4 separate regions of the Homo sapiens genome follow, and regions 2, 3 and 4 are each linked to region 1. The links are contacts of gene promoters, found by promoter capture Hi-C in human tissues and cell types (Jung and others, 2019). All regions are on one chromosome and are shown on one strand. Each heading gives the region's core, a stretch centred on a gene start or on the middle of the fragment in contact. The rest is flanking DNA. Distances are from core to core; before and after follow the strand shown. Region 1 holds the start of HSD17B2 (hydroxysteroid 17-beta dehydrogenase 2). Region 2 overlaps CDH13 (cadherin 13). Region 3 overlaps CDH13 (cadherin 13). Region 4 overlaps CDH13 (cadherin 13).

What was found. Contacts are between HindIII fragments. The study calls those that stand out against the background at their distance.
Region 2: a fragment that was not itself captured here is called in contact with the fragment with the promoter of HSD17B2 in region 1 in 1 of the 25 tissues and cell types used here (dorsolateral prefrontal cortex).
Region 3: a contact is called between a fragment that was not itself captured here and the fragment with the promoter of HSD17B2 in region 1, in 1 of the 25 tissues and cell types used here (dorsolateral prefrontal cortex).
Region 4: a fragment that was not itself captured here is called in contact with the fragment with the promoter of HSD17B2 in region 1 in 1 of the 25 tissues and cell types used here (mesenchymal stem cells).

The regions. Positions count from the first base shown.
Region 1 is chr16:82,033,091-82,036,531 of GRCh38, reverse strand. HSD17B2 (hydroxysteroid 17-beta dehydrogenase 2) reads right to left here and starts at 1,279. Exons shown (of 5, transcript NM_002153.3): 1 at 843-1,279. The coding sequence starts at 1,107. The HindIII fragment of the contact is 4,836 bases long and covers 1-3,441 here.
Region 2 is chr16:83,457,943-83,461,546 of GRCh38, reverse strand. The region is part of intron 6 of CDH13 (cadherin 13); the gene reads right to left. Among named protein-coding and RNA genes, the nearest start is that of MIR3182, 49 kb to the left of the region's middle. RefSeq lists an enhancer at 2,703-2,872. The HindIII fragment of the contact is 4,801 bases long and covers 1-3,604 here.
Region 3 is chr16:83,130,133-83,133,795 of GRCh38, reverse strand. The region is part of intron 4 of CDH13 (cadherin 13); the gene reads right to left. Among named protein-coding and RNA genes, the nearest start is that of CDH13-AS1, 270 kb to the left of the region's middle. The HindIII fragment of the contact is 4,415 bases long and covers 1-3,663 here.
Region 4 is chr16:83,442,000-83,445,385 of GRCh38, reverse strand. The region is part of intron 6 of CDH13 (cadherin 13); the gene reads right to left. Among named protein-coding and RNA genes, the nearest start is that of CDH13-AS1, 44 kb to the right of the region's middle. The HindIII fragment of the contact is 3,864 bases long and covers 127-3,386 here.

The DNA of each region.
Region 1 (3,441 bases), core at 30-2,529:
CCCCAAATGATTCCACAGCTGATTTTTTTTTTATTTGGTAGGGCTTTCTGGGTTAGGATAACGCTGGATAATCCTAATTACAGCCCTATCCAAGCTTAAACTCCATAACCAAGCAAAAATTTTACAACTCAAAGAAATTTAATTTGGCCTCACACTTGCAATGGGGAAACACACACACACACACACACACACACACACACACACACACACAAACAAGGGAAAAACTGGCAGCTCAGCTAACAGGCAACTGAATGTTGGACACGATGCCAAGTTGGTCCAATTAAGAAACATTAGAGGTCTAATGAGGAACAGTTCAGACAGGACACAAGGTTCTTGACAGCAGCCAAGCAAACTGCAAAGTCTCCAGCCCAGGTAAGTGAATCCCTTCAATATTTCAAAACAGCAAGGGACAAGTAGAACTTGGCTTGTAAGCGTTCTTGCATACCTAGGGAAGAAGAGTCCAGGTGGAGAACCTGGCCAAACAATGATGTCAGAACAAAAGTCCATTTAAGCCTAAAAAACAATCTATGGGACATTCCTGGGTACAATAGAACACATGAAATATTGCCATTTTGCCTATTAATATTTATTCCTGGGAAATTTTAACAAAATCATTGTCTGGGTGCACTTCATCCTCTCCTTCCCTCCCACTACCAGCCCCTTCAAATGCACCTCCTGGAAAAAACGGAACGAAAACAGTGTCATGAAAAATACTTGGGTGAGGGCTTTCATTTACTCCATGCCAAGTATTTTATTTTTAAGCCAGATTTGACAAAGTCCTGCTAAGGCAAAGCAAGTTTCAGATCATACCCTCAGTGAAAATTGTAGCACCGTCTGCTTACCTGTCACCAGGACTGCCTTCTGATCCACAGGTAACAATTCTTGGCCAGATAAGTAAGTATACATGAGGAAGCATGACACCGAGAAGAGGATCAAGCCCCAAAAAGGGGACAGGATGAGCAGGCAGACTGCACAGAGGCCTGCCAGGCAGACCATCCAGCTCCACAGCTGCCCTGAGCTCTTCTTGTATTTGCAAAATACTGTCCCACATAGTACTGTGGGGACAGCCAGGCAGATCCATGCTGTGTCCGAGAAGAAAGTGCTCATTCTCAGTGACTTGCTGCACCTTCAAGTGCTCAGGGCCAGTGAGTCTAGCGGGCAAAGGCTGGCTGGAGGCAGCCTGAGTTCTGTGAACAGAGAGTCAAGAAGGGAGGGGAGAAAGCAGCCCCAGCCCCTTTCAACTGAGCATAGATTAAGCATAATCATATTCCCAGTGGGTAATTTAAACCAGTGTGCACTTCAACATAAATACCAAGGCACTTCCTATTTGACCGCTCTCGCCCCTCCCCACCCCCTGCATACACAACACATGCACATACTCACCCACAAACACACACCTTCTATTTTTTTTTAATGACAGTCCACCTCTGGAGCGATGACTAACTGGATAATAATTGACAGAATTTGAACTGCATGGAGAATAACAGGAAGATCCTCTAGCTCACAGGAAAATACTGTCTTCTTCAAGAGCCTGCAGTATGTCTGGGTGCTGAGTCCTTTTTCTGACTCGGGAGTGAGTGAGAGTGTGTGTGTGTGTGTGCGTGTGTGTGCATGCATGCATATAAATATAGGCAATCGATGAAGTTTGGAAAATAGATTCTGGAAGGGAAGGCACCTCTGATCTGGTCCATAGCTTCAGGACTCCTACAAATCCCAACTGAGGCAGGCTGAAGGGTTGGATGGAGAGGGATATGAAAGTAGAGGAAGATATTCCTTGGTAGAGGAAAGTGCTTTGGTCTTGCCTGAGTGGAAACATGCCAGGGAGAGATAATAATGACAATTAACTAATAGCGGCTAATATCTATTGGTAGTTTTTTGTGGCAGAGGCTGTGTATAGCTGCTTATTTGTTCTTTCTCTTTATTGTAAGCCTATTCTATGCCAGCCTCCATTCACTGGGACTCCTCTCATCCTCCTTGAATACAATATCCTTATGAAGTTGATTCTAGTATTATAGTAATTTTACAGGTGAGGAAACCAGGACACAGAGAGGGTAAGAGACTTAGTCAAGATCACACAGCAGTGGAGTCTTGCAGCCTGATCTCAGAGCTGTATGCCCCTAAGCATTCTATTCCACTGCCTGCTTTAGGCAAAAAAAAAAAAAAAAATTAGTGCATTATGTGCTAGATCTTTCCTACTTTCACCCCATTTCAACCTTATAAAACTGTTTGAGGTGGGTGTTATTATTATGGTCAGTTTACAGAGAGAAAAACTGAGGCTGGGAAAAAATAAATCCCTTACTCACAAGCGGCTTAAAAGCCAGCACTCTGCAACTACAGCACCACCTAACCGTGCTAAGCCAGAGAGGGGTCACCGCACCTGGGCTCAGGGCGTGCCCCATGTGGGCCACATGCCTGGCTGGAGGGAGGCAAGGTTGTGATAAAGGCTGGACTTTGGCATAGCTAGAGAGAAACATTCTCTATTTGAGGTCAGTTTCCCTCTATTCAAATCTAATCTTAACTCCACTACTTATTAATTACATAGTCTTGGGAGGGTCACTTCACCTCCCTAGATCTTCATCCCTTTGGCTATAAAATAATATCATATCCTGCCTGGAACAGTAGAAGGAACCTCATAAATGCTAGTGATTCATGTTTTTTAAACAGGAGGAGAATGAAGAATAAGAGGAAGTCGTGTAAAACAAAGTGTCCAGTGGAGTATAGACTTGTCTCAAAACACGTGCTGGAGTTAAATGAGGGGCAGGAGGAGGAAGGGAGAGGATGCCTTTTGTGGATGATGTTGGGGAGGCAGGACTCGGGAAGGAAGGGACCCAGCAGCGTATCCCCTGTAAAGGGAGGTGAGGCAGAGCCCACCTGGGCTCAAAGCCAACTCAAGACCCAAGGGAGAAGGGGTGGGAAGCAGTGTCTTGTGAACCATTACTGTGCTGTGGGACTGTGGGGTTGGACAACAAGGCAGTTATGAGGGTCTGCGTGGAGTGATGGCAACTGTTGTCTGCCCTCCCAGCCACATGGACATTTGAGTCAGGGAGACGTTACCAGCTCCAGGCCAGGAAGCTTAGGGGCAGGGATCTGGAATTGCCTTTGGCTAGCCCTGAACTCTCCCTCCCTCAACAGACCCCAATTCCTTCCTGGGTGCCATCTGAGCCACAGGGCACCTCTCACAATCCTTGTGGCCTCACCAGCCCAGAGCATCCTGGCAGTTAGCTCCGTTCGAAAAACAGCTTCCAGGTGGGGAGACAGGACTAGCTATGGCTCTTCGCTGAGAGTCTTGGCATTTGGTCAGTGGCTCCCACATTTGGGCTGAGCCAAACACCTGCGCAGGCTTCCTGCCAAGTGCACGCCCACTTGAGAGAGGTGGCTTTTCTCCTGGAGGCAGCCCTTGCGAGTTCCCAGACCTACTCTGTCCTGGGGCTCCCAAGGGGA
Region 2 (3,604 bases), core at 827-3,326, 1.4 Mb before region 1:
CATGAATTGCTGTTTAACAAAGGCGGGGGTCTCACCTCAATTTAGTGAACTGGTTTTTAAGAATCTCAAGGGGAAGATTTCATCTTCACCTCTGTTCCATTAAATAATCAGTTCATGGCTGGAGCTTGTCCATGCCTTTCAGAAAACCTGATTCAATCATCATCATCCCTCACCTGCTCTGGATGAGCCAGATTTTAATAAATTATTGATAAAAATGTTGAATGAGATAAGATTCATGCCTGATAAATGTTACATAGCTGATACTTCCTCTTTTCCATTAAAAGCTATATATTTTATATATAAATAGGAATATGTACATATACATGTATGTGTATATGTACCTATATACACACATGCATATACAACATATAGCAAGGTATAATAAATAGTACAGTCAACACTTGTATCCACCACCCAGCTTAAGAAATATCACATTACGATACCACTGCAGCTCCTGTGTGTTCCTCCATGATCTTAGCCTGCTACCTTTCCTCTTAGGAAAATGGCTATCTGCAGTGTTTGTTCTGTGTGTGTGTGTGTGTGTGTGTGTGCGTGTGTGTGTGTTTTGAGACAAGGTCTAATTCTGTCACCCAGGCTGGAGTGCAGTGGAGTGATCACAGCAACCTCGACTGCCCAGGCTTAAGCATCCCAAGCAGCTAGGACCATAGGCATGGGCCGCCATGCCCAACTTTTTTTTTTTTTTTAATTATTTGTAGAGACAACATCTCGCTATGTTGCCCAGGCTGATCTTGGACAAAATCCTAGGCTAAAGCAATCCTCCCGCCTCGGCCTCCCAAAATGCTGGGTTTACAGGTGCAAGCCACTGCACTCAGGCTATCTGCAATTTTAAATCTATTATTCATTGTTTTGCTTCATAGTTTTACTTCTTATCTGTTTCTAAACCTAATAGTTTTTCCTGTTTTTTTGAACTCTATATAAATGAAATCATCTGTTTGTATTTTTCTGCAGACTGTGTTTTCCACATATGCATGTCCTGGAGATCCACCATCCTTGCTGCAGTTCATCAGACGTACACACTGCCGGGTACGGAGCTATGCTTCCATCAATGAGCATGTAGGCCATTTCCTATTTTGCTATTGCTAGAAATGCTTCTAGGAGTGTTCTTGTCTCTGTGCCCAGGGGCATAAATGAGAATTCCTTGCAGAGATTATCTTAGGGATAGGTTACACATCTTCCACTTTGGTAGATAATGACAAACTGTTCTTCAAAGTTGTTGTACAAATTTACTCTCTGAACAGCAGTCAGCGAGGGTCTCTGTTTTCCTGTTATTGCCAAAGCTTGGCATTTCTAGGCTTAATATTTACCAATCAGGAAGACATAAAATTATATAAATACATCTAATTGTTACTGGAATTTTAGCAATGGCCAATGAGTGTGAACAGTTTTTTATACATTAGTCATTTTTCTTATTCTGTGAAATGACTGTTTTTATCTCTTAGTTATTTTTTACTTTTTTTTGCTATCTTATTGAGTTTAGAAGTTCTTTATATAATCTTGTTACTGATCCCCTATCAATTAAATGTGCTGTGAGTATCTTTTAAAAGATAACGTCTTCAATCTCTACCTTTTCTTTTAAGCCCTCACATCTCATGGAAGAACCTGTTGCATATCAGACTGAAATCTATGTGAATTATGCCTTGGGCATTCCTCTTTTCTACCAGTTGAGTAACACTATTGAAAACTACAATGCTCATACTCCATTCTACACTTTTTGTGGTACTCAGGGGACGTTTACTGGTATGTAGTTTCTAGATCCTTCCTTTCACCTCCTTATGCAGTTGAGTCATTTGGTTATTTTTCTTCCTGTGATCAAGTGACTCTTAATACAGGTTTTACCTTTAGCATTTACATGAAACCATCAAAATTTCCAAAATCTCCTTCATTAGAAAAACGGTCACAAATCTGCGAATCTGTCAGCCATTTTCCTATGGCTCTGGTACAGCACAGTGAAACCAAATTGCAAAGTTTAATTAGTTAGCTTGCTTCAAGATAAAAATGCAAATAAAAAAGTTTTTAGTTTCACCCGTTTATAAGCCAAAGGCAAAATTAATTAAAGTCCATGGAGAAAAGTAAACAAACATTTTGAAATAAAGGAAATAAACATTCTGAAGTGTGAGGTTAAGGCTCATGAAACATGGGAGAGTCAATTATTTATAGTCATGTGTTTCTGTCCGATAATTTAATCACGTTTATTCTGTCCTCTCTCCCACTGGAATGCATGCTAGGAAGAAAGGCTCATTAAGCATTAAAAGGTGGTCCACATGGGTTTCTTGTCAATGGCATTGCTGCATCCCAATGCTAACAAAATATTTCTGGACAAAATGACAGTGGATTTTCTGAGTTCTGTTATTTTCATTAAGATGTTCTTAGAAACCTGTAAAATGGGAAGCTCATATATAATTTTGCCATATTTAAAAACCAAACAAACAAAAAGTTGGTATTGTGCTGTTGGCCATCTTGGTTCTTAGATTAGTCATAGAGGAAAACAAGTGTGTTTGTTGGAATTGACAGTTAAGATGTTAAATAAAAAGAAAAACCCCATGAAAAATTGTCGTTTCATCATCTGTAAATAGACACTGCTTTTGCATAATAATATACCCTTCTCTTGACAATATCTAGAAGCAGTGCATGATGGGATGTTTTCTCATTGCTGCAATGCTGCAGTGAAACTGAAATCTCATCAGACTTGGGTTGAGTCAGAGAAAGAGACAACCGGTGCTGTGGCCCACGATCAGCAGACAGAATGTCAGAAATGAGCAATCGCACCATTGGGAATTCATCCAACAGGACTGAGAAGTGTCAGTATGAAAAGACAGTATATAAAGAAGATTGTTGCTGGGTGGCCTGGGTTTGCAAAACAACAGGAAGATGGCTGAAAAAGGGAAATCAGTAAATAAGTTACAAGGCTACCATAGCTATGAAAAAATAGTAAGAATTTGTATTGTCATGGAAAGATGACCACAAGATTTTTTGTAGTGGGGGGAGATGAGTTATAAGATGAACTCCATTCTATAACTCCATAGGTTTGTAAAATCATATCAAAACAAAGACCTGTCTGTAGATATGTAGTTATATTTAAGGAAAGGAAAATATAAGAGGACTACACACAGTTGTTAATGGCGATGATGTTGGGAAGTGTTGGGGAGGAATTAGGAGAGGTGGAAGGCTCATTTTAATGTAGTCATTTCTGTGCTTGAGATTTTGCTACAAGAATGACTTAGTTTGGTAATTCAAAGGCGACTAAAAAGTAAACAATAACAGATCAACAAAGGAACAGCCCAAAGAACCAGGTGTCAAGTACAGGAGAAACAGCAGATCTTGAGTTGGAGCCAGCCTGGGATCCTGGATCCAGCAGGAGCAGGCACAGGAAGACAGAGACGTCCCAGCAGACGAGGAAAGCCCTGGGGTTTCTTGGAAGCTCTCTGTTAGGAGCGTTCTGTCTGTAATGGCGACAGTGGGTGAGTTCCTACCTCTGGTGCACTTAGCACACCAGGGCCATCTTAAGAGACCCAGAGCTGCCTCCCATTCTGCCCCCGGGACCCTCTTTTGTTTCTGCTCAGGCTTTACCAGCATCACTGCGTAT
Region 3 (3,663 bases), core at 434-2,933, 1.1 Mb before region 1:
CGGGCTCAGTGGGTCACACCTGTAATCCCAGCACTTTGGGCAGCCGAGGCAGGTGGATCACTTGAGGCCAGGAGTTTGAGACCAGCCTGACCAATATGGTGAACCCCCATCTCTACCAAAAATACAAAAGTTGGCCAGGCATGGTGGTGCATACCTGTAATCTCAGCTATTAGGGAGGCTGAGGCATGAGAATCTCTTGAACCCCGGAGGCAGAGGTTGCAGTGAGCACAGATCACGCCACTGCATTCCAGTGTGGGTGACAGAGCAAGACTCTGTCTCAAAAACATAATTCCACTGAGGAGAGACTGTATCAAAAATAGGCCTTATTTACATTAGCACCATCTGATAAAAATACGTGAGCCATATTAATAATTTAATACTTTTCTGGCAGCCACGTTAAAAAAAAAGTGAAAAGAAATACAAGGGATTTGTTTCCAAATGAAATCAATACAAAGATTATTAAGGAGACATTTTCCATTCTTTTTGTGTTCGTGTGATAAGCTTTTGAAATCCAATGTGTATTTTACGCTTACAAAACATCTCAGTGTGGACATTGCGTTTTCAGTAAAAAATATTTTATCTGTAAATAGATTAAAATGTATCAGGAAAAAGGTACATTCAACTGCCAAGTTGTCCCAATAATGGAATGAAGTGTTACTTTTTGAGCCCCAATTAAAATTAGTAAAGACTTTATAACTGCATTGACCACATGTGGTTAGTGGGTACCATATTGGGCTGTGTAGAGGCAGAACTTCCTGCAATAATGTCAATGTTCCATGGGACAGTGCAGCCTTAGAGTGTGAATGTGGGCTGCTCCTAAGGAATAAGGATACAGAGGGTGTATCCCAGGAAGAACTGACAGTTCAAAGACTTGGAAATAGGAAAGGCTTATGTGTAGCTATGGCTGCTGAATGTAGAAATAAACTGTGATGTTCATCTCAAGAAGAATTTTTGAGCACTGAGCCTTTAGGCATCTTAGATACTCTGTATTCCAATTTTTCTCCTATACTCTAGCCTATGGTAAGTTTCAGTTATTGAATAAAACTGCTAGTTGCCTTAAAAGGGGGAAATTAAGGCCAGGTGCTCATGCTTGTAATCCCCACCCTTTGGGAGGCCGAGGCAGATGGATCCAGATGAGTCTGGCCAACATGGTGAAACCCTGTCTCTACTAAAAAAATACAAAAATTAGCTGGGCGTGGTGGCATCCACCTGTAGTCCCAGTTAGGGAGGCTGAGCAGGAGAATTGCTTGAAGCTGGGAGGCGGACGTTGCAGTGAGCAGAGATTGCACCAATGCACTCCAGCCTGGTGACAGAGAAAGACTCTGTCTCAAAAAAAAAAAAAGGGGGGGGTGTTGGGGGGTGGGTGGGGGGTAGAAATTAAGCAGATGTAAATTTCTGAGAAAAGTGTATATAGTTAGACATAGATAAAGGGCACAAAACAATAGATTTTAAAAGAGGTAGAGGGATGACAGCAATTACTGGGTTACCCTAGACAACCCAGTAAGTGCCTGATCATAAAATCAATCAGGCAACAGCAAGTAACCCTGAGTCTGCATTTCAGGAGAGGGGTGATGGAGAGGTGCTGGGGCTTCAGTACCAGCTTTCTGGTTCAGCCTCTAAGGATATAGCTTGGTCTTCGTGGGTCTTCAAAGTGAGGCAAATGGCTATTAAATAGAATAAAACAAATTAAATTCCAAGACTATCAGACTCCTTGGCACCTATTCGCATAGGTGGGCATAAATCTCAGGTACAGAGTATCTGGATGCAGTGAGACCTCTAAGAATCAGATGCACAGAACACTGAGGAACATGGCAAAGCTGATGTAAATTACCGTCATGTCTGACTTACGTTCATGACACAATCAAAGCGGAGTCCTGGTTGAGTGGTTTTCATGATTTAGTCTAATGATCAATGTTGATTCCCTTTACAAACAGCACTTGGCCCAGTTACATATTTCTTCTATCCTGGGTTAAAGATGGCCTTCTAAATGCCCATTCTACCAATTTATAGGGTCTTTAAAACAGGATTTTCTGTAAAAAAGTACTTTCATTGGTTTTGATGAAAAGGGTTTGTGATGAAAGCAGAATCTCTAATAAGCATTTCATAAATGACTTGTCTTTCAAACTTAATATAAAACAGAATAAAATACATCTCCCAAAGACCTCCCTGCTGGCTTACAGATTTAAAGTCCCCTGCTCTCAATCAATCGGGCCCAAGAACTCAAAAATCTTTAAAGATGCAATCAATTAGTTATCAGTGAAAGTTGGTAAAACTGAGAAATTATTTATGGCCCAAATTTTGAAATAGTCATACTTTGAAGGGGGAGGGGAAAAAGCCACTTTGGGATCTGCATGTTCCTCTCCAGAGCACTCACTGTCAGCTCCTCCCTGCTGTCTAGAGTTCAAAAATGGAAAGAAAATCACAGGTATGAGCAAGTATGTTCACGACTGGGTGTTTTACCTTGTCTTCCAAAACTATGACAGATAGTCTAGGGCAGAATGCACCATGGAAAAGAGCCAGAAATTAGGAGGCAAACTCATTTTCCCAGGGCTGGCAGTGATCTCTCGGGTTGTCTCCTGTGTGTGTCTGTGGGCGGGGGGGGGGGGGGGGGGGTCATACACCCCCTTATACTCCCCACCTGCTATCTAAGTGAGTAGCAGTGATTTGGAATCTCAGGGTTGTAATATGATTCCCTCGTATTACGGAAAAGCAGATCCCAAATTCTAGTAGTTTAGCTACTTACCAACCAACTAATTACTTGGCAGACAGATAAATTATGTATCAGTCAAGACACTTTCTCTCATCCCTGGAGCTGCCTGAATAACCCTGCTGTGGGTATTCAGTTCTACACAGCAGGATATCCAGTTGTGAAAAACCCTCCACCAAGGGCTAACTTGCCACAGCACCTTGCTTTTGATGTCTTCATTCTTCAGGATATGAGTCTCCTTTCTTTACAGGAATTCAGGTTGTAATAAAATATGACCAAAAAAATCAAGAACCAGTTACGTACTTTGTCTCCATTCACCCTCTTGAAATGCAAGACAAATGATTTAAAAGGCGTTTTTGTGCCAGCATGCTAACTCCTGTGTCTTTTATGATAATTTTATATTTAGTTAAACTTAATTTTTCCCAACATTTTATTACAAAACTTCCAAATGCAGAGAAAACTCGAAAGAATTGTACAGCAAGTACCCATATGTTCACCAACTTATATTCTACCACTAACATTTTAATATACTTCCTTTATCACATATCAGATATCGATCTATTGATCCAACCCTCTGTCCACCTTATTTTTGAGTGCATTGCCAAGAATTGCACTCAATTTTAATGCTGTTTTAAAAAGAGAAATTGTCAGTGAAGATATTTCATTCCACGGAAGAGTATTCTCAGATTGGGCTTAGTATTTCCTGAGGATACTGGTTAAGAGCACAGACTTTGAAATCTCAAAAAGCAGTAACAAAGCTTGGCTCTGTTATGAACTAGCTGTGTGGCTTTGGACAGGTTACGTCACCCCTGAGTCTCATTACCTTCATTGGCATGCTGGAAAATGATCCTCATGTGGTTGTTATCATAAGAATTCAACATAATAGATGAAAAGTGCTTAGCACAGTGCTGGACAAATAATGACTATGTGCTGATATTGTCACCTCTTTTGTAATC
Region 4 (3,386 bases), core at 809-3,308, 1.4 Mb before region 1:
AAAACTTAGGAAGCTTTTCTGAAATAACTTTTCTTCTTTTGTAGAAGAATGATTCGGGTAGGTGAAAATGATGCAAACCTTTTATAATTTATAAAACCTTTTATAAATTATAAAAGCTTTTATAAATTATAAAAGCTTTTATAAATTATAAACTCTCGCAGCCTCAGTTTCCTCAGCTGCAAAATGGGAAAACTATTACTCAAATGTCAGTGTTGTATGAGGATTAAATGAGAGAGTAGTAGCTGGCATGGAAGGAGGTCACACCTGTGAGTTTATTCAGACTCCACTGCCATGAAAAATATCAAAAATTAAGAATATAAATAATCCCTGAAAGGCAAAGTCTTAATTAACTAGCATGGCCTCATTTGAAAAAAATCCCAGCCCTGTGGTTTCTGAATATGGATAAACAATGCCATCCTTTCTTAAGAGCTTTAATTTCCTACCTGCAACGTGGGAACAGAGGCATTTTGGTCCATTTTTGGAGTCTTCCGTGAACTCCCCCTTCATCAGAGGAAAGCGCTGATTTGCTGATTTGCTGATTTGGGGAATTTTATACCTTCAGGCAAAACCAACCATGAGAATATTTTCATTTCGAACAGAATATTATGAATGAAATAAATTAACTCGGCAGTCAGAGATTTAAGCTGGTTTCAGCACACTGCCCCACAAAGATCTGCCATGCTACCCAAAACATTATACTCCAGCTCGCCAGTTACTATTATTAAAAACAGCATCACCGGAGGGACATGAGCAATGATGGCCCTGAAAATTCCTTGGGCACTATGACTGGCTCTTCACAAGAGAGGACATGGTTCTGGTGCTCAGTGACTGGGTTGTAAAGCCTGGTTCTGCCACTCATCAGGTGGGTGCCCTTGAGCACATTACTCAACCTCTGGGTCAAGATTTTAAAAAATCTTTCCAGGTGATTCTAATGTATAGCAAAATTTAAGAAGTATTGTCCTTGAGCAAGTTCCTTACCGAGTTTAAACTTCAGTTTCAATATCTTTAAAATGGGAAAATCACAGCATGTACTTCATGTGATGGTGCTGAAGATTAAATAAGATAATGAACACTCAGGGCTTAAGTGCTTAACATATCTGTTACCTAGCAAGGGTTCAATCAATGTAAGCCTCTACCATCATCGTCATCATCATCATCATTACTATGGTCATCATTATCATCATCATCATTGTCATCACTGTTGCCATCATCACCATCACCATCATCATCTTTGTCACATCAGCAGCCACATCTTCATTGTTGCTATTGGTATCTTCACCATCATCAACCTCACTATTGTCATCTTTGCCATGATGATCATCACAGTCATCATCAGCCCATCATCATCACCATGATCATCGCCATCACCTTCACCACCGTCTTTGCCATCATCATCATAATCAACACCATCACCTGACTCTATAGGAGGTACCATTGATTTTTTTTTTTTTTTAGAAACGGTTTCCTCTGTTGCCCAGGCTGGAGTGCAGTGGTGCAGTCTTGGCTCACTGCAGTCTCAACCTCCTGGGCTCAAATGATCCTCCCACCTCAGCCTCCTGAGTAGCTGGGACTACAGGCACATGCCACCAAGCCTGGCTTGCTCTCGCTCTCTCTTTCTCTCCATATATATATATATATATATATATATATTTTTTTTTTTTTTTTTTTTTTTTTTTTTTTCGTAGGGACTTCGCACTCTGTTGCCCAGGCTGGCCTCAAATTCCCAGGCTCAAGTGGTCCTCCTGCCTCAGCCTGCCTAAGTGCTGGGATTACAGGTGTGAACCACCAGCCCAGTCTGACACTGATTCCTTTAGGAAGACTAGAGTGCTTTATACTCAACATGATAATCTTGAATTCCTGATTCTGCTTTTAGTACTTCAGAAAAAGTGAGGGGCTAGTAACCCGTAAAAATTCTCTAGACATTTTGATTAAATTCTATTTAGGTCAAAAATGTATAAATCAAACCTTTTCGTAACATTCAACACGCACTGAGAATGTGCTCCTAATGATGGTCCTGTCTGTGGGTGCAGTGCTCCAAGCTCACTCCTTAGATTCTTTCACTCATACCTGAACACCTGTTGCGGAAGGGCCTCCCAGCCTCTTTCTCAGAGGCGTGGCCTCCCCAGGGGTGAAGCAGCAAAAACGCAGCTAGAACTCCATCCACCATTCTAAGCATCACTGTGGGAGTAAGTCACCCACCCTATCACATTCTCAGCTTCAAATAAATTCCTTTCTGCGTTTGGCATGGAAGGTGATAAGTATTTTCTGAGCGATTTTTCAGTTGCAAACTTCAGTCTGCTGAGATGAAATATGCAGATTGAGGTCTGAACAGCTGTAGCACTGCAGAGTGGCTGGTATTTTGGTGGGCTTTATTTTAAAGTCTTTGAGAGTTCAATCTCACTAAATAATTCAGCTGTTTAGGAAAAGCCATATGATCTTAAAATAAGTCCCTGAAGGTCAAGCATATAGGGTGAAATTTTATTTTTCAGTAAATAATAGCATTTGACAAAATAACAGAAATGTCCCTTATAGTATCTCTTCCTTTACATCTTTGAATGAAATTACCAAGTGCACATCACTGGATGTTCATTTATAAACATTTTACATCTTCTCCATGCCTTTCTGGCAGAGTATTAAGGTAACATTCTGATATCACTGTTCCCAATGAAGTTAGAGATTCTAAAGAACAATTTCAAAATGCAGCCCTAACTTGGGATGTCACTGATCACTTGGAAAGTCGTTTGTTACATCTAGTCCAGAAAAATATAAGCTTCTTGTCATAGAAAGGCTGAAGTATTGACTATAAATCTATAAAGAAAAAGAAAAAAAAAACTTGCAATGTGAAAGTTTTCCAGGTCAAAGCTGGATCTCTCTCATCCATCACTGAGTTCTCCAAGGTGACATGCAATTCAGGAGAAAAGCATCAGCATCCAGAAAGATACTGGCCAAGGATGTCTTTGTGCTCTTTAATGATGGGTCTTTGGCTGAATCACCAGACTGGTAGCTTTGGAATAGCTGCTCATGGAGGTGGGAGGCAGGATGTGGAGGTCCTTGGATAAATCTCATCTAGATTCACATAGAATCCTGCACTCGTCAAGGCTGATGGGATCCTGAAGTTCATCTACCTCAAATACCTTCTTGTCTCATTTTACGGATGAGGTAACTGAGGCCCAGGGAAAATAAACGATAGGTGCCCATTAAGGCACTCAGTGAATAATAAACCCAGAGCTAAGACGCAGGTGGCATTGGAGGAGCATGGTGATAACCATGCTTTGCGTCAGAGTTGGCCTGTGTGTTCCTCCGGTCCGACTGCAAGTACAGGCATGGCTATTTTGCTTGTGGACAAAAAAGACTCTGTCATCTCGCTCCCAGCTCTTATGGTGTGA